7 separate regions of the Homo sapiens genome follow, and all the other regions are linked to region 1. Evidence: promoter capture Hi-C in 16 types of primary human blood cells and fetal thymus (Javierre and others, 2016). All regions are on one chromosome and are shown on one strand. Each heading gives the region's core, a stretch centred on a gene start or on the middle of the fragment in contact. The rest is flanking DNA. Distances are from core to core; before and after follow the strand shown. Region 1 holds the start of CEBPD (CCAAT enhancer binding protein delta). Region 2 overlaps SPIDR (scaffold protein involved in DNA repair). Region 3 overlaps SPIDR (scaffold protein involved in DNA repair). Region 4 overlaps SPIDR (scaffold protein involved in DNA repair). Region 5 overlaps SPIDR (scaffold protein involved in DNA repair). Region 6 overlaps SPIDR (scaffold protein involved in DNA repair). Region 7 overlaps SPIDR (scaffold protein involved in DNA repair).

What was found. The method cuts DNA at HindIII sites, captures the fragments that hold promoters and counts their contacts. A CHiCAGO score of 5 or more calls a contact.
Region 2: a fragment that was not itself captured here is called in contact with the fragment with the promoter of CEBPD in region 1 in 7 of 17 cell types (neutrophils, monocytes, M2 macrophages and 4 more); the score reaches 22.8 in neutrophils.
Region 3: a fragment that was not itself captured here is called in contact with the fragment with the promoter of CEBPD in region 1 in 6 of 17 cell types (neutrophils, monocytes, M1 macrophages and 3 more); the score reaches 24.6 in neutrophils.
Region 4: a fragment that was not itself captured here is called in contact with the fragment with the promoter of CEBPD in region 1 in 11 of 17 cell types (neutrophils, monocytes, M1 macrophages and 8 more); the score reaches 35.2 in neutrophils.
Region 5: a contact is called between a fragment that was not itself captured here and the fragment with the promoter of CEBPD in region 1, in 9 of 17 cell types (neutrophils, monocytes, M1 macrophages and 6 more). The highest score is 17.6, in neutrophils.
Region 6: a fragment that was not itself captured here is called in contact with the fragment with the promoter of CEBPD in region 1 in 1 of 17 cell types (monocytes); the score reaches 6.4 in monocytes.
Region 7: a contact is called between a fragment that was not itself captured here and the fragment with the promoter of CEBPD in region 1, in 7 of 17 cell types (monocytes, M0 macrophages, neutrophils and 4 more). The highest score is 13.1, in monocytes.

The regions. Positions count from the first base shown.
Region 1 is chr8:47,736,579-47,740,034 of GRCh38, forward strand. It overlaps CEBPD (CCAAT enhancer binding protein delta), which reads right to left and starts at 1,586. Exons shown (of 1, transcript NM_005195.4): 1 at 335-1,586. The coding sequence starts at 1,542. The coding sequence ends at 733. RefSeq lists an enhancer at 610-1,548 and silencers at 945-1,134, 1,625-1,734, 1,775-1,854, 1,945-2,414. The HindIII fragment of the contact is 19,422 bases long and covers 1-3,456 here.
Region 2 is chr8:47,265,819-47,269,274 of GRCh38, forward strand. All of the region lies in intron 1 of SPIDR (scaffold protein involved in DNA repair), which reads left to right. Among named protein-coding and RNA genes, the nearest start is that of SPIDR, 6.6 kb to the left of the region's middle. The HindIII fragment of the contact is 3,553 bases long and covers 1-3,283 here.
Region 3 is chr8:47,285,309-47,288,764 of GRCh38, forward strand. All of the region lies in intron 3 of SPIDR (scaffold protein involved in DNA repair), which reads left to right. Among named protein-coding and RNA genes, the nearest start is that of SPIDR, 26 kb to the left of the region's middle. The HindIII fragment of the contact is 8,846 bases long and covers 1-3,456 here.
Region 4 is chr8:47,311,531-47,314,986 of GRCh38, forward strand. The region is part of intron 5 of SPIDR (scaffold protein involved in DNA repair); the gene reads left to right. Among named protein-coding and RNA genes, the nearest start is that of SPIDR, 52 kb to the left of the region's middle. The HindIII fragment of the contact is 5,254 bases long and covers 1-3,456 here.
Region 5 is chr8:47,328,868-47,332,323 of GRCh38, forward strand. The region is part of intron 5 of SPIDR (scaffold protein involved in DNA repair); the gene reads left to right. Among named protein-coding and RNA genes, the nearest start is that of SPIDR, 70 kb to the left of the region's middle. The HindIII fragment of the contact is 1,353 bases long and covers 986-2,338 here.
Region 6 is chr8:47,346,915-47,350,370 of GRCh38, forward strand. The region is part of intron 5 of SPIDR (scaffold protein involved in DNA repair); the gene reads left to right. Among named protein-coding and RNA genes, the nearest start is that of SPIDR, 88 kb to the left of the region's middle. The HindIII fragment of the contact is 543 bases long and covers 1,293-1,835 here.
Region 7 is chr8:47,362,931-47,366,386 of GRCh38, forward strand. The region is part of intron 5 of SPIDR (scaffold protein involved in DNA repair); the gene reads left to right. LOC107986940 (a long non-coding RNA gene) reads right to left here. Exons shown (of 3, transcript XR_001745888.3): 2 at 66-124. Among named protein-coding and RNA genes, the nearest start is that of SPIDR, 100 kb to the left of the region's middle. The HindIII fragment of the contact is 1,554 bases long and covers 1,135-2,688 here.

The sequences.
Region 1 (3,456 bases), core at 336-2,835:
CCCCCAAAAAGTCAACCCTTCCCCAGGTCTGCGTTCTTCGGGAGAACACCTTCTGCTGGAAAGCTGCTAGCTTACCTGAGCTCAGCCGTGCTCCACCTAGCTTAGGCAAGTTAAATAAGGCCAGGAGAGAGCCTTTAATGCGTTTTAAAAGCGACAGACCCTCTCTCCTGAGTAGCTCGGGCCTGCGCCCCATCCCCCCGCCCCCCCCACACACACACCTGGCGCCCGGGCTCCCTGGTGCTCGCTGGCTGCGGGTCCGGAACGCACCCTTCCCGAGCCGGGTCCTGCGCCACCGGCGGGCGGGCGGGAGTCACTGCGAATATAGGAAGCAGGGGCGATTTCAAATGCTGCTTTATTCTTACAAATACTGTAAAAATTAATATAAAAAAGTGAGCATGCTCAGTCTTTTCCTCTTATCTACAATACAAAGGGTTTGTCTGAAAAGTCTGGTTTTTTTTCTTTTTACAAATGTACCTTAGCTGCATCAACAGGAGTAAGATGTAGAAAAAGCTACCATTACAAAAATAATTTAAGGGAAAATAAACACGTTTAGCTTCTCTCGCAGTTTAGTGGTGGTAAGTCCAGGCTGTAGCTTCTTTGCGCTCCTATGTCCCAAGAAACTGCAGCGGGCACCCGGCGGCTCTGGCTGCGCCAGGGCAGGGCGCGCTCCGCTCCGGGCCGTCGGGTCTGAGGTATGGGTCGTTGCTGAGTCTCTCCCGCCCCGGCCGCGCGTTACCGGCAGTCTGCTGTCCCGGCGGCCGGCAGGAAGGGCGGGCTGGGCAGCTGCTTGAAGAACTGCCGGAGGCCGGCCAGGTCCCGCGTGAGCTGCTCCACGCGCTGGTGCAGCTTCTCGTTCTCAGCCGACAGCTCCACCAACTTCTGCTGCATCTCCTGGTTGCGCCGCTTGGCCTTGTCGCGGCTCTTGCGCACGGCGATGTTGTTGCGCTCGCGCCGCTGCCGGTACTCGGGGCTGCCGCGGTCCGGGCCCCTCTTGCCGGCGCTCTTCTCCCGGGCGGGGCCGGGCGCGGGGGTCTGCCTGGGGCTGCTGCGCGGCGGCTCCGGCGACGTGGGCGGGGTGGGCTGCCCTGCGGCCGCCAAGCTCACCACGGTCTGTGCGCACGCGGCCACCTGCGCGGGCAACAGCGAGCCGGGCGCGTCGCCGTCGCCCCAGTCGGGCTCGCGCTTGAGCAGGCGGGGAGCGGCAGGGCCCGGGCCCAAGGGGCGCGCGGGGCCGCCGGGAAGAAGCTCCAGGGGCCCCGCGCCGCCCGCCTTGTGATTGCTGTTGAAGAGGTCGGCGAAGAGCTCGTCGTGGCACAGCTCCAGGGTGGGCACGGCGGCCATGGAGTCGATGTAGGCGCTGAAGTCGATGGCGCTCTCGTCGTCGTACATGGCGGGGGCGGCGGCGCCTGGCTCGCCTAGGGCCCCTGGCTCGGCCCCGCGGCCCGGCTTGCCCGCCCGGCCCGGTTCGTAGAAGGGCGCAGGCTCCGCAGGCCAGGGCGCGCCGCGCGCCGGGCCGTCCAGGCTGAAGAGCGCGGCGCTCATGGCGGCGTCGGGCCGGGCTCTGCGTCCAAGCGAGGCTGTCACCTCGCTGGGCCCAGCCCCGCCGCCTTTTCTAGCCCCGGCTGACGTGCACGCCCCGCCCCGACTCCGGCACCGCGGGGGCGCCCCGGGGCCGCGGGGGAAGGGGCGGGGGCGCCCTGGGAGCCCCCCGGAGCCGCCCCGAGCCTTCCCGGGGCGCGCCCCCTCTCAGTTCCTCCCCGGGGCCCCCTCCCCGGCCCTGGGGACCCCCAGCCCACGTTGCAGGAGGGTGCCCGCGCTGCTGCTCCCTCCCCGGCCCGGGCCGGCCTGCGCTGCGCTGCTGGGAATGACACTCCCTCTGCCAGCACTCCAGGGCCTTCTCTTCTTCCTGTTTGTGGGCTTGGAACCTCCTCGCTCCTCGGGGTTGGGAGTGAAATCAAAACCAGGACTTGGCCGCAGCGCGCGCGTCCCAGGCCGGCTCCTGTCGCCGGAGGGCGGGGGGTGGAGACCCGTGGGAGAGGACCCGCGCGTCCAAGGACGCCCCCCGACCGTGGGCACGCGCGTGAGGCCCTCGCCCCGCGCCTCCACCGTGGGACCAGATGCGGGAAGAGGCGTGGGGGACCAGACGTGGGGACAGCGGCGGCCTGGCAGGCGGGGAGGGCTGCCCGCACCGCACTCGGGCGCCTCGGGGAATCCGGGCCGGTTCTCGCTGCTCTCCTCGGAGGTCCCGGGTCCGGCCGGCCCTGGGGGTCGAGGCCCAGAGACGCGGCTGCTGCGTCCTGGCCGAAAGGCCGACGGGACGCTGTCGCCAAAAGCAGAGCAGATGGGGGAGACGCGGTCACGACACCGCGTCCTCCGCCGGCTCCTCGAGGTGCGGGCTCTCCGGCCGGACGCTACTCCCCGACCCCGCAGACCCGGGCGTCCGCCGCCAGCTCCCGCGCCCGCGTTTCTTCCAGGTCTACGGAAGCAGTGCCATCGTGTGGCGGCATCTTGCGTTAGACCTGTTTTTAGTTCCAGGCTCTTTCCCTGTTAAATATTCCAAAAAAGTGCCTTGAACCTAAAGTAGTTGGGTCCTTTTTGGGAAACAGGTAAGATCTACCAGTAGCTATAGCAGGGTGCAGATGGGCCTCGACTCACGATGGGGTTACATCCCGGTAGACCCATCGCACACTGAAAATGTCTTAAGTAAGAATGGGCTTTGTCATGTGTCCTGCAATTTGAGGCAGGCATTTCTGGTCAGACCCATTTATTATTTTAAATTAAAAATATGGTTTTTTTCAGCCGAGCACAGTGGCTCATGCCGGTAATCCCAGCATTTTGGGAGGCTGAGGTGGGCGGATCACTTGAGGTCAGGAGTTTGAAACCAGCCTGGTCAACATGGTGAAACCCCATTTCTACTAAAAATACAAAAATTAGCCAAGCGTAGTGGCGTGCGCCTGTAATCCCAGCTACTCGGGAGGCTGAGGCAGGAGAATCGCTTGAACCCGGGAGGCGGAGGTTGCAGTGAGCCGAGATCGTTCCATTGCACTCCAGCCTGGGCGACAGAGCGAGACTCCATCTCAAAAAAAAAATTGAGATGGGATCTCACAATATTGTCCAGGCTGGTTTCAAACTCCTGGGCTTAAGAGATTCGCCGGCCTCAGCCTCCCAAAGTGCTGGGATTACAGGCGTGAGCCACCATGTCGGGCCCAAATCCATTAAATCACTATCGCTAGTCACACCTGCTCCATGTCGAGTCTCTTCCTGCGCAGGCCTCTCACCAGATCTGCGTCGGAACACCAAGCTCTACTAACTGCTGTGCAGTTTCTGCAGTCAGTTCCAGAGGTCATTTCTAACGTTGCACTATGGGATATTTAATAGGTTTCCTAAAGAACAAACATATTTCTTTAGAGTTACTCAGAGGGTACACAATGATGATGTCACACAATTAATTACCTA
Region 2 (3,456 bases), core at 257-2,756, 470 kb before region 1:
TTTCATGTCTGGTGAGGGCCTGCTTTCTGGTTCACAGACAGCCATATTCTTACCATGTCTTTATATGGTGGAAGAGGTAAAGGAGCTCTCCAAGGTCTCTTTTATAAGGGCATCAATCCCGTAACTTCTAATCACCTGCCAAAGGCCCCACCTCCTAATACCATCAGGTGATCTGCCCGCATCGACATCCCAAAGTGCTGGGATGACAGGCGTGAGCCACCATGCCCGGTCTGAAGTTTTTTTTTTTTTAATACAACATAAAACTCTCATGATTTATCGAAGTTGTTGTGCATATCAGTAGTTTCTTTGTCTTTTTTTTTTTTTTTTTTGAGTTGGAGTCTCACTCTCTTGCCCAGGCTGGAGTGCAATAGCGCGATCTCGGCTCACTGCAACTTTCCGCCTCCCCAGTTCAAACAATTCTCCTGCGTCAGCCTCCCAAGTAGCTGGTACTACAGGCACCTGCTGCCATGCCTGGCTAATCTTTTGTATTTTAGTAGAGACAGGGTTTCACCGTGTTGCCCAGGCTGGTCTTGAACTCCTGAGCTCAGGCAATGCAATCCACCCACCTCGGCCTCTCAAAGTGTTAGGATTACAGGCATGAGCCACTGTGCCTGGCCAATAGTTTCTTTGTTTTAATTGCTGAGTAGTGTTCCATATAATGGATATACCAGAGTTTGGATTAACATTTATTATTGAAGGACCTCTAGGCTGTTTTCAGGTTTTGGTTATTGCAAATAAAACTGCTATAAACATTTGTGTACAGGTTTTTGTGTGAACATAAGTTTTCATTTCTCTGAGATAAATGCCTAAGTATGTAATTGCCAGAACCTATGGTAATTTGATGTTTAACTCTATAAGAAACTGACAAACTTTTCCAAAGTGGTTATATCTGTATAATTTTGCAGTCCCATTGGCAATGTTGTTATTCAGTTTTATAGATAATAAAATCTACCCTTTTAAAGTGGAAAATCCAGTGGTTTCTAGTATATTTACAGAGTTGTACAAATGTTCCTAATTGTAGAATATTTTCATGACCCCAAAAAGAAACCCCATAGCTATTACTAGTCAGTCACTCCCCATTCTCTCTTCCCTCATCCATTGGCAACCACTAAGCTACTTTCGGTGTGTATGGATTTGCCTATTCTGGACATTTCATATAAAGTGTGGTCATTTTGTGACTGGCTTCTTTCATTAAAAATAATGTTTTCCAGGTTTATACATGTTGTTGCATGTATCAGTACTTCATTCCTATTTATTTTGAATAAATTTTTTATTGCATGGACATACTGCATTTGAAAAATCCATTTATTAGTTGATAGACATTTGGATTATTTCCACCTTTGGGCTGTTAAGAATAATGTTGCTTTGAACTTTTTTTTTTAATTGAGATCCGGTCTCATTATATTGCCCAGGCTGGTCTCAAACTCCTGGCTGGGCTCAAGAGATCCTCCCATCTCAGCTTCTCAAGGTGTTGGGATTACATCCGTGAGCCATCGCACCTGGCCTGCGTTGAACATTTGTATATGCATTTTTATGTAGACCTAAGTTTTTCTTTCTCTAGCAGTGGAATTTTTGGGTCACATAATAACTGTATGTTTACATTTTGGATAACTGTTAGAATTTTCCAAAGTGGTTGCACCTTTTACAGTCTCACCAGCAAGGAATGAACATTCTAATTTTGCCACATTCTTGCTAACACTTGCCATTGCCTGTCTTTTACTTTTAGTCATCCTAATGGTTATGAAGTGTTACCTCACTGTGATTTGGTTTGCAGTTCCCTAATGAGATTGAGCATCTTTTCATGTACTTATTGGGCATTTCTGTATCTTCTTGAAGAAATGTTTATTCAGCTTATTTGGCTGCGTTTTCATTGGGTTATTTGCTGTTTTATTGTGGAATCACGAGTTCTTTAAAATTCTGTATACTGTTCCCCTATAAGATGTATGATTGCAGATATTTTCTCTCATTCTTTGGGTTTTCTTTTCATTTTCTTATTGAAGTACAAATGTTTTTAATAATTTTGATGAGGTCCAATTTGTTTTTTCTTTTGTTTCTTGTGCTTTTCGGTGTCATGTCTAATAAATCATTGCCTAAACCAAGGTCACAAAGATTTATTCCTATGTTTTCTTCCAAGAGTTACAGTTTTAGCTCTTACATTTAGGTCTGTGATTCATTTGGAGTTAATTTTTCTACACACTGTGAGGTAGGGGTACAACTTCATTCTTTTCGATGTGGATACCCAGTTGTTTCAACACTGTTTGTTGAAAAAATTGTTCTTTCTCCTTGAATTGTCTTGGCACTTTTTTGTTTTAATTGAAAATCAGTTGACCATAAAAGTAAAGGTTTGTTTCTGGTCTATGAATTCTATTCCACTGATCTCCATGTCTGCCTTTATTCTAGTACCATACTGTTTTAATTACTGTAACTTGGCAGTGTTGAAATTAGAAGTGTGAGTTTCTGACTTGTTTTCTGTTTTGAGATTTTTTTAACTGTTTTGGGTTCATTACATTTCCATATGAATAATAGCAGCTTGTCAATTTCTGCAGAAAGCCATCTGGGATTTTGATTTTGTTGAATATATAGACAAATTGGAGAGTATTATCATCTTAACAATATTATTTCCCATGAGCATGGGTTGTCTTTTCATTTATTTAGATCTTCTTTAATTTCTATCTATGTTTTACAGTTTTCAGTGAAAAAGTCCTGCACTTCTTTGGTTAAATTTATTCCTAAGAGTTTTATTCTTTTTGATGCTATTTTGAATGCAGTTCTACTGGCACATGCTGCTGCACGTGGCTAATATTTTTTGTTAATTTTTTGGTAGAGATGGAGTCTCGCTGTGTTGCCCAGGCTGGTCTCAAATTCCTGGGCTCAAGGGATGCTCCTGTTTTGGCCTCCCAAAGCTCTGGGATTATAGGCATGAGCCAGCCGCACCCAGCTCCATTGATTTTTTTAAATATTGAGATTGTATCCTGCAACTTTGCTGAACTCATTTATTGGTTCTAATAATTTTTTGGGTTTTCTGAAGTGTGGATTCCTTAGGATTTCCTGTGTACAAGGTCATGCAGCTAGGCATGGTGGCTCACACCAGTAATCCCAGCACTTTGGGAGGCTGAGGCGGGTGGATCACTTCAGCCTAGGAGTTCGAGACCAGCCTGGGCAACATGGTAAAACTGAGTCTCTACAAAAAACACAAAAATTAGCAGGATGTGGTGGCTCATGCCTGTGGTCCCAGCTACTCGGGAGGCTGAGGCAAGAGGATTGCTTGAGCCGAGGAGGTGGAAGCTTCAGTGAGCCATGATTGTGCTACTGCACTCCAGCCTGGGCAACAGAGTGAGACCCTCTCCTTTTTTTTTTTTTTTTTTTTTTTTAAAGGAGGTAGAAGCTTCAGTGATCCATGATCGTGCTACTGCACTCCAGCCTGGGCAACAGAGTGAGACCATCTTTTTTTCCCCC
Region 3 (3,456 bases), core at 694-3,193, 450 kb before region 1:
CAAAATGTTTCTTTAAAATTTATAAAGTGTTGCTTTATGAAGTAAACTAGTACACATCTTTTAAATTCTATAATCTTCTGATGGAATTGCAGAAGCTGTTGGCAGAGACAAGCCTCTGACCTTAGGCACACATTACAAAAGCATGTTCCTGATTCTGCTTCCCAGCTGTCATAAAAATACTACTTCCTCACCCAAAATGTAGTATAGAATTTTTATCTTGGAATTTTTGTTAATAGGATGTCTTAAACTAATACTTCAGTATCTGTTCTAGACCTCTCTCCTTGGCTTGTAGATGATTGCCTTCTTCCTCTCTCTCTTCCCCAGGTCTCTTCACATTGTCTTCTCTGTGCATGTCTGTCTTTGTGTCCAGATTTCACCTTATAAGGATTTCAGTCATCTTGGATTAAGGCCCACCCTAATGACCTTATTTGAATTTGATTACCTCTTTGAAGACCATGTCTTCAAATAAAGTCACATTCTGAGGTACAGAAGGTTAGGACTTCAACATTTGAATTTTGGTGGGGGGGGACACAGTTCAGCTCATAACACCAGGTGCTAGGACAGTGCCTAGCACACAGTGGGCACCCAGAAATGTTCAGTGTGGCTAATATTTATCCTACGGTTCCATTGGAATGAGCCTTGATATCAAGGACACCCTCTTTACAGCAAGTGAAATGAGTTACTAATCAATTCCTGGTAGTGATTTTAACTACCTAGTTGTGCAGTCAGGTGCCTATAATTCATGGGTTTATAAATCTAGAGTCCTGGTCTCTGAGGTTTTGAATGACATAACTAATGATTATCCTGTCTTTTAAATTAGATGGTACAGAAGCACCAGACAGTTACATATTTTCTTAGATACTCACACTAAACTAATGGTGAAAGCAACTGCAGGTCTCTCTGACTTGAGAGCTACGCATAATGGTTAAGAACATGGACTCAGAAGCTCACCTGCCTGGGTGTGCGTCTCAGGCACCACAGCTGCTGGCTGAAAAAAGGCATTACATTTGGGAAGTCCTTTCCAATGAATGACTCATAACATAGAAACTGTATGAATAAAGCTGGTAAATTCACCTAAACATAAAGGGAAAAACAGCATGGCCAAAATTACATATATAAGTCTGATAGGGTGGCATACGTCTGTAGTCCCAGTTACTTGGGAGGCTGTGGCAGGAAGATCACTTGAGCCCAGGAGTTTGGGGCTGCAGTGTGCTGTGATCATGCCTGTGTACAGCTGCTGCAGTCCATCCTGGGTGACATAGCAAGACCACATCGCTTACAAAAAATTACATGTACATACACAAAATTTAAAATTCAGAAAAACCAGGGAAAATACTGTGGCTCATGTCACAGACCAAGGCTGATCTTTCTAATAAAGAACCATCAGAACTTAATCTAGGGGGAAAAAGATAACTATTGCAAAAATAACGATTATGGAGGAACTGCTTTCAAAAAAGGAAATATAAATGATTTTCAAACCTATGAAAAGATGCTCAGCCTCAAGGCAGTGAGAGGTCATTTTTTTCTGATCAGATCATCCAGAATCTTAGTATATATCTTTCTGTTTGTTCTTTCATGTTCTTTTGAAGTCTTCTAAAAACATGTACTTTGGTTTTACATGTCTCTTAAGTATTGGGGGAACCCGCCCCCAATATTTCAACGTAGGTTCTTTGTATTTTCCCTAAGTGTCGGCCAGCTGAGAAATAAAGAGAAAGAGTACAAGGAGAGGAATTTTACAGCTGGGCCTCCAGGGGTGACATCACATAACAGTAGGACCGTGATGCCCACCTGAGCCACAAAACCAGCAGGTTTTTATTAAGGACTTCAAAAGGGGAGGGGGTGTACGAACAGGGAGTAGGTCACAAAGATCACATGCTTCAAAGGGCAAAAAGGAGAACAAAGATCACATGCTTCTGAGGCCAATAAAGATCACAAGGCAAAGGGCAAAGCAAAGATCACAAGGCAAAGGGCAAAGCAAAGATCACAAGGCAAAGGGCGAAATCAAAAACTCCTGATAAGGGTCTATGTTCAGCTGTGCACATATTGTCTTGATAAACATCTTAAACAACAGAAAACAGGGTTGGAGAGCAGAGAACTGGTCTGACCTCAAATTCACCAGGGTGGATTTTTTTTCCCCACCCTAATAAACCTGAGGGTACTGCAGGAGACCAGGGTGTATTTCAGTTCTTATCCCAACCGCATAAGACAGACACTCCCAGAGTGGCCGTTTATAGACCTCCCCCCAGGAATGCATTCCTTCCCCAGGGTATTAATTATTAATATTCCTTGCTGGGAAAAGAATTTAGCAATATCTTCCCTACTTGCATGTCCGTTTATAGGCTCTCTGCAAGAAGAAAAATATGGCTGTATTCTGCCTGACCCCAAAGGCCATCAGACCTTATGGTTGTTTTCCCTTGTTCCCTGAAAATCGCTGTTATTCTGTTCTTTTTCAAGGTGCACTGATTTCATATTGTTCAAACACACATTTTACAATCAATTTGTACAGTTTAACACGATAGTGGTCCTGAGGTGATGTACATTCTCAGTTTATGAAGATAACAGGATTAAGAGAGTAAAGACAGGCATAAGAAATTATAAAAGTATTATTTGGGGAATGATAAAGGTCCATATTAAAATGAAATCTTCACAATTTATGTTCAGAGATTGAAGTAAAGAACTTGTAAAAGTATTAATTTTGGGAACTGATATATGTCCATATTAAAATGAAATCTACATAATTTATGTTCCTCTGCGGTGGCTCCAGCTCGTCCCTCTGTTCGGGGTCCCTGACTTCCTGCAACACTTAAGTTTCTTGTAGGTATTTTATTGGTTTTTGCTACTGCTTTAAATTTGATTTCTGTATTGTAGTTTGTACCTTGCCACCTTTATTGGACTTCCTTATTAACGGTAGTAATTTTTCAGTTGGTTTCTTGACTTTTCCATGAATTCATTTCATAATTTGCAAATAGTGATAACTTCCTTCTTTTTTTTTTTTGAGATAATGTCTCACTCTGTCACCCAGGCTAGAGTACAGTGGTGTGATCTCTGCTCACTGCAACCTCTGCCTCCTGGGTTCAAGCAATTCTCTGCCTCAGTCTCCCGAGTAGCTGGGATTACAGGTGCCCACAACCATGCCTGGCTAATTTTTTGTATTTTTAGTAGAGATGGGGTTTCACCATCTTGGCCAGGCTGGTCTTGAACTTCTGACCTCGTGATCCACCCACCTCGGCCTCCCGAAGTCTAGGATTACAGGCGTGAGCCACCGCTCCCTGCTGATAACTTCCTTCTTGACTTATTTTTCAGATGCATAATAATGATAGAGATTGATAATGTCTTTTGCAAGTACTCAGTTTATTTTATTAGCTATTTAGATAGATATAGATTCTTAGAATATTCTGAATAGTTTATTTTTCCTTTTATAACGTGAACAATAGGCCACTTCAGTAATTCTAGATG
Region 4 (3,456 bases), core at 498-2,997, 420 kb before region 1:
AATCCTGCCTAGTTGCAGTGGCTTATGCCTGTAATGCCAACACTTGGGGAGGCCAAAGAGGGGTATTGCTTGAGCTAAGGAGTTTGAGACCAGCCTGGGAAACGAAGTGAGACTTCATCTCTACAAAAAGAAAAAAATCTTGAAAGCACCCTGAGAAATGCTAATGAATGGTAGCTGACTTCTTTTTTTTTTTATATTATTATTATACTTTAAGTTTTAGGGTACATGTGCACAATGTGCGGGTTTGTTACATATGTATACATGTGCCATGTTGGTGTGCTGCACCCATTAACTCATCATTTAACATTAGGTATACCTCCTAATGCTATCCCTCCCCACTTCCCCCATCCCACAACAGTCCCCGGAGTGTGATGTTCCCCTTCCTGTGTCCAAGTGTTCTCATTGTTCAGTTCCCACCTATGAGTGAGAACATGCGGTGTTTGGTTTTTTGTCCTTGCGATAGTTTGCTGAGAATGATGGTTTCCAGTTTGATCCATGTCCCTACAAAGGACATGAACTCTTCATTTTTTATGGCTGCATAGTATTCCATGGTGGATATGTGCCACATTTTCTTAATCCAGTCTATCATTGTTGGACATTTGGGTTGGTTCCAAGTCTTTGCTATTGTGAATAGTGCCGCAGTAAACATAGGTGTGCGTGTGTCTTTATAGCAGCATGATTTATAGTCCTTTGGGTATATACCCAGTAATGGGATGGCTGGGTCAAATGGTATTTCTAGTTCTAGATCCCTGAGGAATCGCCACACTGACTTCCACAATGGTTGAACTAGTTTACACTCCCACCAACAGTGTAAAAGTGTTCCTGTTTCTCCACATCCTCTCCAGCACCTGTTGTTTCCTGACTTTTTAATGATCACCATTCTAACTGGTGTGAGATGGTATCTCATTATGGTTTTGATTTGCATTTCTCTGATGGCCAGTGATGGTGAGCATTTTTTCATGTGTTTTTTGGCTGCATAAATGTCTTCTTTTGAGAAGTGTCTGTTCATATCCTTCACCCACTTTTTGATGGGGTTGTTTGTTTTTTTCTTGTAAATTTGTTTGAGTTCATTGTAGATTCTGGATATTAGCCCTTTGTCAGATGAGGTAGGTTGCGAAAATTTTCTCCCATTTTGTAGGTTGCCTGTTCACTCTGATGGTAGTTTCTTGTGCTGTGCAGAAGCTCTTTAGTTTAATTAGATCCCATTTGTCAATTTTGGCTTTTGTTGCCATTGCTTTTGGTGTTGTAGACATGAAGTCCTTCCCCATGCCTATGTCCTGAATGGTATTGCCTAGGTTTTCTTCTAGGGTTTTTATGGTTTTAGGTCTAACATTTAAGTCTTTAATCCATCTTGAATTAATTTGTGTATAAGGTGTAAGGAAGGGATCCAGTTTCAGCTTTCTACATATGGCTAGCCAGTTTTCCCAGCACCATTTATTAAATAGGGAATCCTTTCCCGAAAACTGGCACAAGACAGGGATGCCCTCTCTCACCACTCCTATTCAACATAGTGTTGGAAGTTCTGGCCAGGGCAGTCAGGCAGGAGAAGGAAATAAAGGGTATTCAATTAGGAAAAGAGGAAGTCAAATTGTCTCTGTTTGCAGATGACATGATTGCATATCTAGAAAACACCATCATCTCAGCCCAAAATCTCCTTAAGCTGATAAGCAACTTCAGCAAAGTCTCAGGATACAAAATCAATTTGCAAAAATCACAAGCATTCTTCTAGACCAATAACAGACAAACAGAGAGCCAAATCATGAGTGAACTCCCATTCACAATTGCTTCAAAGAGAATAAAATACCTAGGAATCCAAACTTACAAGGGACGTGAAGGACCTCTTCAAGGAGAACTACAAACCACTGCTCAATGAAATAAAAGAGGATACAAACAAATGGAAGAACATTCCGTGCTCATGGGTAGAAAGAATCAATGTCGTGAAAATGGCCATACTGCCCAAGGTAATTTATAGATTCAATGCCATCCCCATCAAGCTACCAATGACTCTCTTCACAGAATTGGAAAAAACTACTTTAAAGTTCATATGGAACCAAAAAAGAGCCCGCATTGCCGAGTCAATCCTAAGCCAAAAGAACAAAGCCGGAGGCATCACGCTACCTGACTTCAAACTATACTACAAGGCTACAGTAACCAAAACTGCATGGTACTGGTACCAAAACAGAGATATAGATCAGTGGAACAGAACAGAGCCCTCAGAAATAATGCCACATATCTACAACCATCTGATCTTTGACAGACCTGACTTCTTATCAGAAATAATGCAGGCCAGCAGGCTATAAACACCTTTAAAGTACTGGGAAAATAAAAATCAACTCAGAATTCTGTAGCCAAATAAGAAAACATACTTTCTAGCTAAGAAAATCTTTATACTACAAGAAATGTTTAAGGAGATACTTCAAGCTGAAGGAAAGTGTTACCAGCTGAAACTCAGAACTTCAGGAATGAAGAGCACTGCAATTGGTAAAAATGTAAGTCTTCCCCACTCCATTAAGAAATATACAGTTGTGACTGTTTAAAGCAGAAATTATAATGTTACAATATGGCATTTATATATGACTGCTGTGTATAAAGGATGAGTCTAGGTTGATGGAGCTGTGTGCTTACTGTGGTCTTTATTTTATGAAGGGGTAGAATTAGCTTTAAGTACACTGCAAAGTTAAAGATATACATTATAATTCCTAGAACAAACACTGGAAAAGAAAAAAATGCAAAGAGGTGATAACTAAAAAACAAGAGAAGTCAAAATGGAATTCTGAAATGTATTTAGAGAAAATGAAAAAAGGTATAAAGGAAGGAACAGCAGAATATAAAACAAATGAGATGTGTGTCAGTCTGTTCTCATACTGCTAATAAAGACATACTCGAAACTGGGTAATTTATGAAGGAAAGAGGTTTAATTGACCCAGTTCAGCATGGCTGGGGAGGCCTCAGGAAACTTACAATCATGGAGGAAGGGGAAGCAAACATGTCCTTCACAGGGTGGCAGCAAGGAACAGAATGAGAGCAAAGTTGGGGGAAAGCCCCTTATAAAACCATCAGATCTCCTTAGAACTCACTCATTATCACGAGAATAGCATGAGGGTAACTGCTCCATGATGCAGTTACCTCCCACCAGGTCCCTTCCACGACGTGTGAGGATTATGGGAACTACAATTCAAGATGAGATTTGGGTGGAGACACAGCCAAACCATATCAGGATGTAAAGAAAACAAATAGCAAACTTACAAACCTAGGTCAGGTCTATGAATAATTACCTTAATTGAAAATAGATTAAGTGTTTTATTTGAAGGTAGAGATTCATACATTGGATAGAAAACAAGACTTCCTGTATTCTGTCTACCAGAGATGCATTTTAAAAATAATGACACAGATAGATTGAAAGTAAATGTATGAGGAAAGGTGTAGCATGCAAACAGTAAGTATAAGATGGAGTTG
Region 5 (3,456 bases), core at 412-2,911, 410 kb before region 1:
TCTTTGGCAATATTTAGTTCTTCTAATGTCATTTTCACAATTTTTTTTTTCTTTTTGGAAACAGCATCTTGCTCTGTTGCACAGGCTAGAGTGCAGTGGCAGAATGTTGGCTCATGGCAAACTCCACTTCCTGGGTTCAAGCAATTCTCGTGCCTCAGTCTCCTGAGTAGCTGGGATTACAGGCATGCGCCACCATGCCTAGCTAATTTTTTTTTTTTTTTGAGATGGAGTCTCACTCTGTCGCCCAGGCTGGAGTGCAGTGGTGTAATCTCAGCTCACTGCAACCTCCGCCTCCTGGGTTCACGCCATTCTCCTGCCTCAGCCTCCCGAGTAGCTGGGACTACAGGCACCCGCCACCACGCCCGGCTGATTTTTTTGTATTTTTAGTAGAGATGGGGTTTCACCGTGTTAGCCAGGATGGTCTCGATCTCCTGACCTCATGATCCGCCCGCCTCAGCCTCCCAAAGTGCTGGGATTACAGGCGTGAGCCACCGCGCCCGACCCAATTTTTGTATTTTTTTGTAGAGACAGGGTTTCACCATGTTGGCCAGGCTGGTCTCTAACTCCTAGCCTCAAGTGGTCTGTCCACCTTGGCCTCGCAACGTGTTGTATTACAGGTGTGAGCCACTGTACCCAGCCTACAATATGTTTTTGAGTGAGATTTCATGGGTTGCTTTAGTGCTTATCAGGTACATCTCAACCAAATCTTCCTTAGATTTGTTACTAGTTTTATGCCAGTCACGCATAGAAACATTACCACTATATGGCTCTACTTTCTCTTCCTCCTTTTTATGCTATTATTGTTATACATATTGTATCTGTTATAATTATTAGTATAATTTTGTCTTTTATAGAAGGGAAAAGAAAGGAGAGCAAGTATACGTTTATAGTGTTAGATGACCCTTCTTATTTACCATTTTTTGTTCTCTTCATTGGTTCCTATGGAATCCTGTTACCATCTGGTGGTGTTTCCTTAGTTTGGTAAAGCTTTGTTCCCACCCACCACTCTTCTGTTACTCACAGATATATGACATTTCTATATGTTATAGGTACAATAGTACAATTACGTACATATTTTGTGCAGTTTTTTAAAATCAGCTAAGAAAACAAATACGCACATATGCTGAGTTTTAATTAGATAATTACTTTTACTGACACCCAGATTTTTCATGTGGACTTGTGTGGATTCTTAGGTCACTTTCCTTCAGCCTTAAGAAATTCTGTGTGTATATTTTATCAGGTGGGTCTGCAAGCAATAATCAGTTTTTGTTTATCTAAAAATGTATTTATCATGCCTTCATTTTTTTGGTGGTGGTGCTTTTCTTAAGGTGCTTTTTTTTTTTAAAGCATCTTTAGTTTTACAGAAAAACTGAAAGGAAGGTACAGAGGTATCCCATAATTCCCTCCCCCACATATGCATAGCTTTCCTATTATCAACATATCCCCCACCAGAATGGTATATTTGTTACAGTTGATGAACCCGTGTATACACATCTTTCTTACGCAAAGTCACTAGTTTCTATCAGGGTTAATTCTTGGCGTTGTATATTCTGTGAGTTTGAACAAATGTATAAAAATATATGTCTACCATTATGTCATACAGAGCAGTGACACTGCACTAAAAATCCTCTGTGCTCTGCCTAGTAATCATTCTCTCCACCCTAATCTCTCGAAACCACTGATCTTTTTACCATCTCTATAGTTTTGCCTTATCCAGAATGTCATACAGTTGGAATCATATAGTATGGCTTTTTTGGAGTGCCTTCTTTCACTTAGTAATATGTATTGAACTTTCCTCCATGTCTTTTCATAGCTTGATAACTTATTTCTTTTCAGCACTGAATTATGTTCCATTGTCTGGATATAACACTTTATCCATTCATCTACCAAGAGACATCTGGGTTGCTTCTAGGTTTTGGCAATTATGATTGAAGGTGCTATAAACATACATTTGGAAGTTTCCGTGTGGAGATAAACTTTCAACTCCTTTGAGTAGATACCAAGCAGAGCAACTATTGGATTGTATTGGTAAGAGTATTTTTAGTTTTATAAGAAACTGCCAAACTGTCTTCCAAAGTGGCTGTAACATTTTGCATTCCCACCAGCAAAAGAGTTCCTGTTGCTCCATATTCTTGTCAGCATTTGGTGGTGTCAGTGTTAGGAATTTTAGCCATTCTAGTAAGTATGTCATGATATCTCAGTGTTGTTTAAATTTGCATTTCTCTGGTAATATATGATGTGGAGCATCTTTTCTTGTACTTATTTGCCATCTGTATCTGTATCTTCTTTGGAGAGATATCTGTTAAGGCTTTTGGCCAATTATTAGTTTCTAAGGTAAAGCTTAGATTATTGATTTTGATCATTTTTCTTTTTTAAAGCAGTCAGATGTCATTTAGTGATCAGAATACATCCTGAAGAAATGTGTCATTATTAGGTGATTTTGTCCTTGTGCGAACATCATAGAGTGTTCTTACTCAAACCTAGGTGGTTTAGTCTACTACACACCTACACTATATGGTTAAGCCTATATCTAGGCTGCAAACCTTTATAGCATTTTACTGTACTGGATACTGTAGACAATTGGAACACAAAGGTAGTTATTTATGTATCTAAGCATAGAAAAGGTACATTATAATATGGCATAAAAGATAAACAGTGGTATACATGTATAGGGCACTTACCATGAATGGAGCTTGTAGAACTGAAAGGTGCTCTGGGTGAGTCAGTGAGTGAGTGTTGAGTGAATGTGAAGGCCTAGGACATTACCATACACTACTATCAACTTTATAAACATAGTACACTTAGACTACACTAAACTTATTTTTAAAAATTTTCTTTCTTCAATAATAAATTAATCTTAGCTTACTGTAACGTTTTTACTTCTTCTTCATTTTTTTCACTTTTTGACTCTTTAGTAATACCACTTTGTAATAGCTCTTTTGTAATAACACTTAGCTTAAAACATAAACATATTGTTCAGCTGTACAGAAGTATTTTTTTTTGAGAGAGAGTCTCTGTTGTCCAGGCTGGAGTGCAGTGGCGTGATCTCAGCTTATATATTCTGTCAGCTTTTTTCTATTTAAAAAATTTTTTTAAACTTTTTTTTTTTTTTTTTTTTTCTCTTTTTTTTTTTTTTTTTTTTTTATTATACTCTAAGTTTTAGGGTACATGTGCACATTGTGCAGGTTAGTTACATATGTATACATGTGCCATGCTGGTGCGCTGCACCCACTAATGTGTCATCTAGCATTAGGTATATCTCCCAATGCTATCCCTCCCCCCTCCCCCGACCCCACCACAGTCCCCAGAGTGTGATATTCCCCTTCCTGTGTCCATGTGATCTCATTGTTCAATTCCCACCTATGAGTGAGAATATGCGGTGTTTGGTTTTTTGTTCTTGCGATAGTTTACTGAGAATGATGGTTTCCAATTTCATCCATGTCCCTACAAAGGATA
Region 6 (3,456 bases), core at 314-2,813, 390 kb before region 1:
ATTGATTTTTTGAAGGGTTTTTTTGTGTCTCTGTCTCCTTCAGTTCTGCTCTGATCTTAGTTATTTCTTGCCTTCTGCTAGCTTTTGAAGGTGTTTGCTCTTGCTGCTCTAGTTCTGTTAATTGTGATGTTAGGGTGTCGATTTTAGATCTTTCCTCTTGTGGGCATTTAGAGCTATAAATTTCCCTCTACACACTGCTTTAAATGTGTCCCAGAGATTCTGGTATGTTGTGTCTTTGTTCTCACTGGTTTCAAAGAACACCTTTATTTTTGCCTTCATTTTGTTATTTACCCAGTAGTCATTCAGGAGCAGGTTGTTCAGTTTCCATGTAGTTGAGCAGTTTTGAGTGAGTTTCTTAATCCTGAGATCTAACTTGATTGCACTGTGGTCTGAGAGACAGTTTGTTATGATTTCTGTTCTTTTACATTTGCTGCGGAGTGCTTTACTTCCGACTATGTGGTGAATTTTGGAATAAGTGTGATGTGGTGCTGAGAAGAATGTATTTTCTGTTGATTTTGGGTGGAGAGTTCTGTAGATGTCTATTAGGTCCACTAGGTGCAGAGCTGAGTTCAATTCCTGGATATCCTTGTTAACTTTCTGTCTCGTTGATCTGTCTAATATTGACAGTGGGGTGTTAAAGTCTCCCATTATTATTGTGTAGTAGGAGTCTTTAAGTCTCTTTGTAGATCTGTAAGGACTTGCTTTATGAATCTGGGTGCTTCTTTATTGGGTGCATACATATTTAGGATAGTTAGCTCTTCTTGTTGATCCCTTTACCATTATGTAATGGCCTTCTTTGTCTCTTTTGATCTTTGTTGGTTTAAAGTCTGTTTTATCAGACTAGGATTGCAACCCCTGCTTTTTTTTGTTTGTTTTCCGTTTGCTTGGTAGATCTTCCTCCGTTCCTTTGTTTTGAGCCTATGTGTGTCTTTGCAGGTGAGTTGGGTCTCCTGAATACAGCACACTGATGGGTCCTGGCTCTATCCAATTTGCTCGTCTGTGTCTTTTAATTGGGGCATTTAGCCCATTTACATTTAAATTTAATATTGTTAGGTGTGAATTTGATCCCGTCATTATGATGTTAGCTGGTTATTTTGCTCGTTATTTGATGCAGTTTCTTCCTAGCCTCGATGGTCTTTACAATTTGGCATGTTTTTGCAGTGGCTGGTACTGGTTGTTCCTTTTCATGTTTAGTGCTTCCTTCAGGAGTTCTTTTAGGGCAGGCCTGGTGGTGACAAACTCTCTCAGCATTTGCTTTTCTATAAAGGATTTTATTTCTCCTTCACTTTTGAAGCTTAGTTTGGCTGGATGTGAAATTCTGGGTTGAAAATTCTTTTCTTTAAGAATGTTGAATATTGGCCCCCACTCTCTTCTGACTTGCAGAGTGTCTGCCGAGATATCCTCTGTTAGTCTGATGGGCTTCCCTTTGTGCGTAACCTGACCTTTCTCTCTGGCTGCCCTTAACATTTTTTCCTTCATTTCAACCTTGGTGAATCTGACAATTATGTGTCTTGGAGTTGCTCTTCTCGAGGAGTATCTTTGTGTCGTTCTCTGTATTTTCTGATTTTGAATGTTGACCTGCCTTGCGAAGTTGGGGAAGTTTTCCTGGATAATGGATAATATGCTGAAGAGTGTTTTCCATCTTGGTTCCATTCTCCCTGTAACTTTCAGGTACACCAATCAAACATAGATTTAGTGTTTTCACATAGTCTCATATTTCTTGGAGGGTTTGTTCGTTTCTTTTTACTCTTTTTTCTCTAAACTTCTCTTTTCGCTTCATTTCATTCATTTGATCTTCAGTCATCTGTCTTCCACTTCAATGAATCGGCTGCTGAAGCTTGTGCATGCGTCACGTAGTTCTCGTGCCGTGGCTTTCAGCTCCATCAGTTCATTTAAGGTCTTCTCTGCGCTATTTATCCTAGTTAGCCATTTGTCTAATCTTTTTTCAACGTTTTTAGCTTCCTTACGATGGGTTTAAACATCCTCCTTTAGCTTTGAGAAGTTTGTTATTACCGATATTCTGAAGCCTACTTCTGTCAACTTGTCAAAGTCATTCTCCGTCCAGCTTTATTTGATTGCTCGTGAGGAGCTGCGATCCTTTGGAGGGGAAGAGGCCCTCTGGTTTTTAGAATTTTCAGCTTTTCTGCTCTGGTTTCTCCCCAACTTTGTGGTTTTATCTACCTTTGGTCTTTGATGATGGTGACCTACAGATGGGGTTTTAGTGTGGATGTCCTTTTTGTTGATGTTGATGCTATTCCTGTCTCTTTGTTGGTTTTCCTTCTAACAGGACCCTCAGCTGCAGGTCTGTTGAAGTTTGTTGGAGGTCCACTCCAGACCCTGTTTGCCTGGGGATCACCAGTGGAGGCTGCAGAACAGCAAATATTGCAGAACAGCAAATGTTGCTGCCTGATCCTTCCTCTGGGAGCTTCGTCTCAGAGGGGCACCCGGCTGTATGAGGTGTCAGTCAGCCCCTACTGGGAGATGTCTCCCAGTTAGGCTGCTTGGGGGTCAGGGACCCCCTTGAGGAGGCAGTGTGTCTGTTCTCAGATCTCAAACTCCATTCTAGGAGAACCACTGCTTTCTTCAAAGCTGTCAGACAGGGATGTTTAAGTCTGCAGAAGTTTCTGCTGCCTTTTGTTCAGCTATGCCCTGCCCCCAGAGGTGGAGGCTACAGAGGCAGGCAGGCTTGTTGAGCTGCAGTGGGCTCCAGCCAGTTCGAGCTTCCTGGCCAGTTTGTTTACCTACTGAAGCCTCAGCAATGGCAGTCGCACCTCCCCCAGCATCGCTGCCACCTCGCAGTTCTATCTCGGACTGCTGTGCTACCAGTGAGCAAGGGTCCGTGGGCGTGGGACCCACTGAGCCCGGCGCGGGATGTAATGTCCTGGTGTGCTGTTTGCTAAGACCATTGGAAAAGCGCAGTATTAGGGCGGGAGTGTCCCGATTTTCCAGGGACCATCTGTCATGGCTTCCCTTGGCTAGGAAAGGGAATTCCCTGACCCTTTGTGCTTCCTGGGTGAGGCGATGCCCCGCCCTGCTTCGGCTCACACTCCGTGGGCTGCACCCACTGTCCAGCCAGTCCCAGTGAGATGAACCCGGTACCTCCTTTGGAAATGCAGAAATCACCCGTCTTCTGCGTCGCTCATGCTGGGAGCTTTAGACTGGAGCTGTTCCTATTCAGCCATCTTGGAATGATCGGGTTTTTCTTAATAATCCAACAAATTTGCTGTTATTGTAATCCCCATTTTAATGAAATTTGTATGAATGGAATTATGTAAATTATAACAAAGAATATTTGCAGATTCCCAAGAAAATGCTCTGAGCAGCTCTGAGTGTGATTGCTAAGATTAGCGATTTTAAACCTTTTTTTCCTTGACACGTGAAAGATGACACTTGTTATAATTTATGTGTCATAAATAAAAGATAGAGTCTCGCTCTGTCACCCATGCTGAAGTACAG
Region 7 (3,456 bases), core at 662-3,161, 370 kb before region 1:
GCGTGAGCTACCACGCCCAGCCAGTGTTCTTTTTTCTGGCCAACATCGCCCATTAGACAACATACCTGTTCTCACCAAATCCTATTCCGCCTGCAGATGGTCAGCACAGATGTGTTGTCTCTACCTGGTAAATTGACAGGGCAGTAAGTTTCTCAGGGCTCACATTACAGTAAGCTCCACAGAGTCCCCTAGACGAGTTCATGTAGCAAAAGCATCTCTGAGGGAATTAAAAGGTATAGAAATTAAAGCTGTTTTTTTCTTTATCTCTCTTTTTTTTTTTTTTTTTTTTTTTTGAGACAGAGTCTTGCTCTGTCACCCAGGCTGGAGTGCAGTGGTGCAATCTCAGCTTGCTGCAAGCTGTGCCTCCCGGGTTCACACCATTCTCCTGCCTCAGCCTCCCAAGTAGCTGGGACTACAGGCGCCCGCCGCTACTCCCGGCTAATTTTTTTGTATTTTTAGTAGAGATGGGGTTTCACTGTGTTAGCCAGAATGGTCTCGATCTCCTGACCTCTAGATCCACCCACCTCAGCCTGAGATTACAGGCGTGAGCTACCACGCCCAACCTTTTTTAAAAAAAAAAAAAAAAAATTAGGTCAAAGAGTATTTCAGACTCTTCACTCTCCTAGTTTCCCTTCTTCCCGCCCCAGGCTCTGGCAGTGATCTCTGGGGAGGAAGCTTGTTGGATAGCTACTTTCCACAATGCTTATGTTTGGAACCGTAGTGAACAGTTATTTATGTTATCGAAATGATATTTTAAAAAAAATACTCCCTTTCTGATTTTGCCATCCATAGAACTGAACTGTGCTCTATACTACAGTTCAGTTTGGGGACCCCTGAGCTCACGTTCTAGTTAGGAGGGTGTGGTGGCCAGCTACCAGAGTGGTATCTAGGTGGTTTTTCTGTTCTGTAGGTTTTTTTTTTTTTTCTCTCTCTGTCTCTCTCTCTTTCATTTTGGTGGTAGGTAAGGAAAATCACATCACTCTCTTCTAGCAAGGTCTATGAGCTATTTTGGGGACATGAAGGAACGTGGTAGATACCCCTGTAGAGGGTCTACACTCATTTGAAGGTAGGATTCTTTGTTCTAAATACACTTGGATCATTGTTTCAGGAGAGAACATGGAGAATGGGAAAATAAGCTTTTTGTGCTCACTCATTGCTTCTGTAAAAGTATTAATTCTTCAGCTAAATAGGAAATAAAACGTTTGGTTCTTGATGAAAGTATTTTGTACATTTTGCCTAGAACAGTAACTGGTCACATTTAATCCTGTATAGGCTTGAAACTGACCTCAGCCTCTTCTAGACTCTCACAGGGCTTCTGCCTTCTTGGACAGCAAGCCAGGGTTACTATGAGTCGATGTTCCTTTGGTCCCTTCTGTGTCCTTGACCTGTATTCTGCAGCTGGAGCCTCCTGGTAGCTCCCAGCTGAAGTTCACCTGGAGAGTTACTGCCATCGTGTTGGCCTAATTTGGGTCAAAAGTAATCAAAAGAACCCTGGCTCTTGTTCCAAGAAGTGTTTTTGATGCAGAGCTTCAATGCAAGTTTTGTTTTTCAGTATGTAAGGTGTGACGAACCTACCCCAGAAGGAGGGAGTCATTCCACTAGTTGGTTCGGGGTGCGCAGTTGTTTAATTATCAGTTTGGCAGGCCCCAGTTTTTCTTCAGTTCACAAATAGAATTCTCATTTGGAATATATCCAATGTTCATTTGGTTTCTTTCAGTTGCAGCAAATCTTACTATGATTTGAGGTTTTTAAATACTATGTTTTTCAGGAAGTCTTTTCGGTGGCATTTTCTGATAATGCCAGCCTGATAATCCAAAAAAAAGTCTGTTAAAAAGCAGATTTGCCTGTAATCATTACCTTTTTTCTGAGTTTGTAATCAGACCTTGTCTTGAATCTGTAAATCCTGTGGAGTCTCAGGTGATTTTCCTGACTTTCCCTGCATGCATGGAGGCAGGTAGCAGATGGATGGGCCTTTATGCCCCGTCATGTGTGGGTGCCCTGGCAGAACCCTGCTGCTGCCCTCCGTCTTCCCCACAGCAAGCCTGTGGCCATTACAACTTGTGCTTCTCTGTGCATGTACAGCACAGCATCTGTAGCAAAAGGAGTCTGCAAGTATTTTGGAGAGTAAGACCTGCATGGCTTGTTTCCTTCTGCCAGAGAACCTAGAACAGGCAAAGACATACATGTGTTTTTCCTTTGGAGGCATCAAGCTCCTTCCTGGACATTGAACTTTATAACAATCTGTGGGTGAATCCGCCCTATTCCTGGACTTGCAGAGAGGGTCTCCCTGGCCACCTTCCACATTCACGTGGTCCAAGTGGCATGAGAAAGGATGGAAGCCTCCTCACACCTGTCCCCATTTACCTTTCCCTATCGGCAAACATCATTATTGTGTTCTTCCAGAGACTTAAATAAATGTTTTTGAAGATATGTTGCCTGCCCTTTATAGACACATGGCAGCAAGTTCCACAACTGCTCAGGAGACCCATGCACATCTTAGCATGCCTCGGGTCTTTCCGAGCAACATGGGAAGGTTTCTTTTTTAACCCCCATGGTGTGCAGCCTTGCATTGCATGGCAGTACCCTCATCTGTTTAGCTGTCCTCTCTAGGCGGACTTTCAGATTGTTTCCCATCTTTTGCATGTGAAAATGCACATTTTCCAAGTTCTGTTCCTTTTCCTGCATTAAAGCTTCTTGACCTTTTTCCTAGAATTTTTTGTTTACTCCTGTTTTAAGAGTTTTAAATTTTATTTAATTGAAACATGAAATAAATGTACTTTTCTATGCCTCTGGGCTGTTATTTATGCTGTTAATTCATTCATGCAGAGGCAAGGGTGGATGACCTATTTTATTAACCTCTATTCTAAAGACTTCTTCCAGGCAAGTAAAGATAAAGAGATTATAAAAATAGGTGAAAGGTCAGGACAGGAAGTGCAGATTGGATTGTGAGAAAAAAGAAAAGCAAAATGCATTTAATTTCTTGTGTGTGCTGCATAAATGCTATGGGATAAGAAAAAATATGTATGTTTACACATACATGCACAAGCACACACACACACACACACACAAACACACAGAGTTCCTGATACAGTGGGAAAGGTAAAATGTACCTATTAAAAAAAAGACATGAAGCCAAAGCAAGGTAAAGATAAAACCAGGTGGTATAGGTCAGAGGACAGCAAGTAAGTTGCAGATGAGAGTGATGAGACGTCTTTTTGGAGCTGACCGTTCCCTGCTTGGGTGTGTCTGCCTGAGAGAGCAGCTGAACAGAGGCTGAAGGTGGGGTCAGAAGGTGAGGCGTCCCAGGGACTGAGGGTGTGGTGTGGCATTGGATGACGGGGTTTGGAGTATGACTTTGGGGTCCAGGGGACACTGTTAGCCTTAAGTGCTGGGATGAGGAGCTTGGATAGCTGTGATTAGATTGTGGGGGCTGTGGTTCCTGAAGAGGAGAGCATG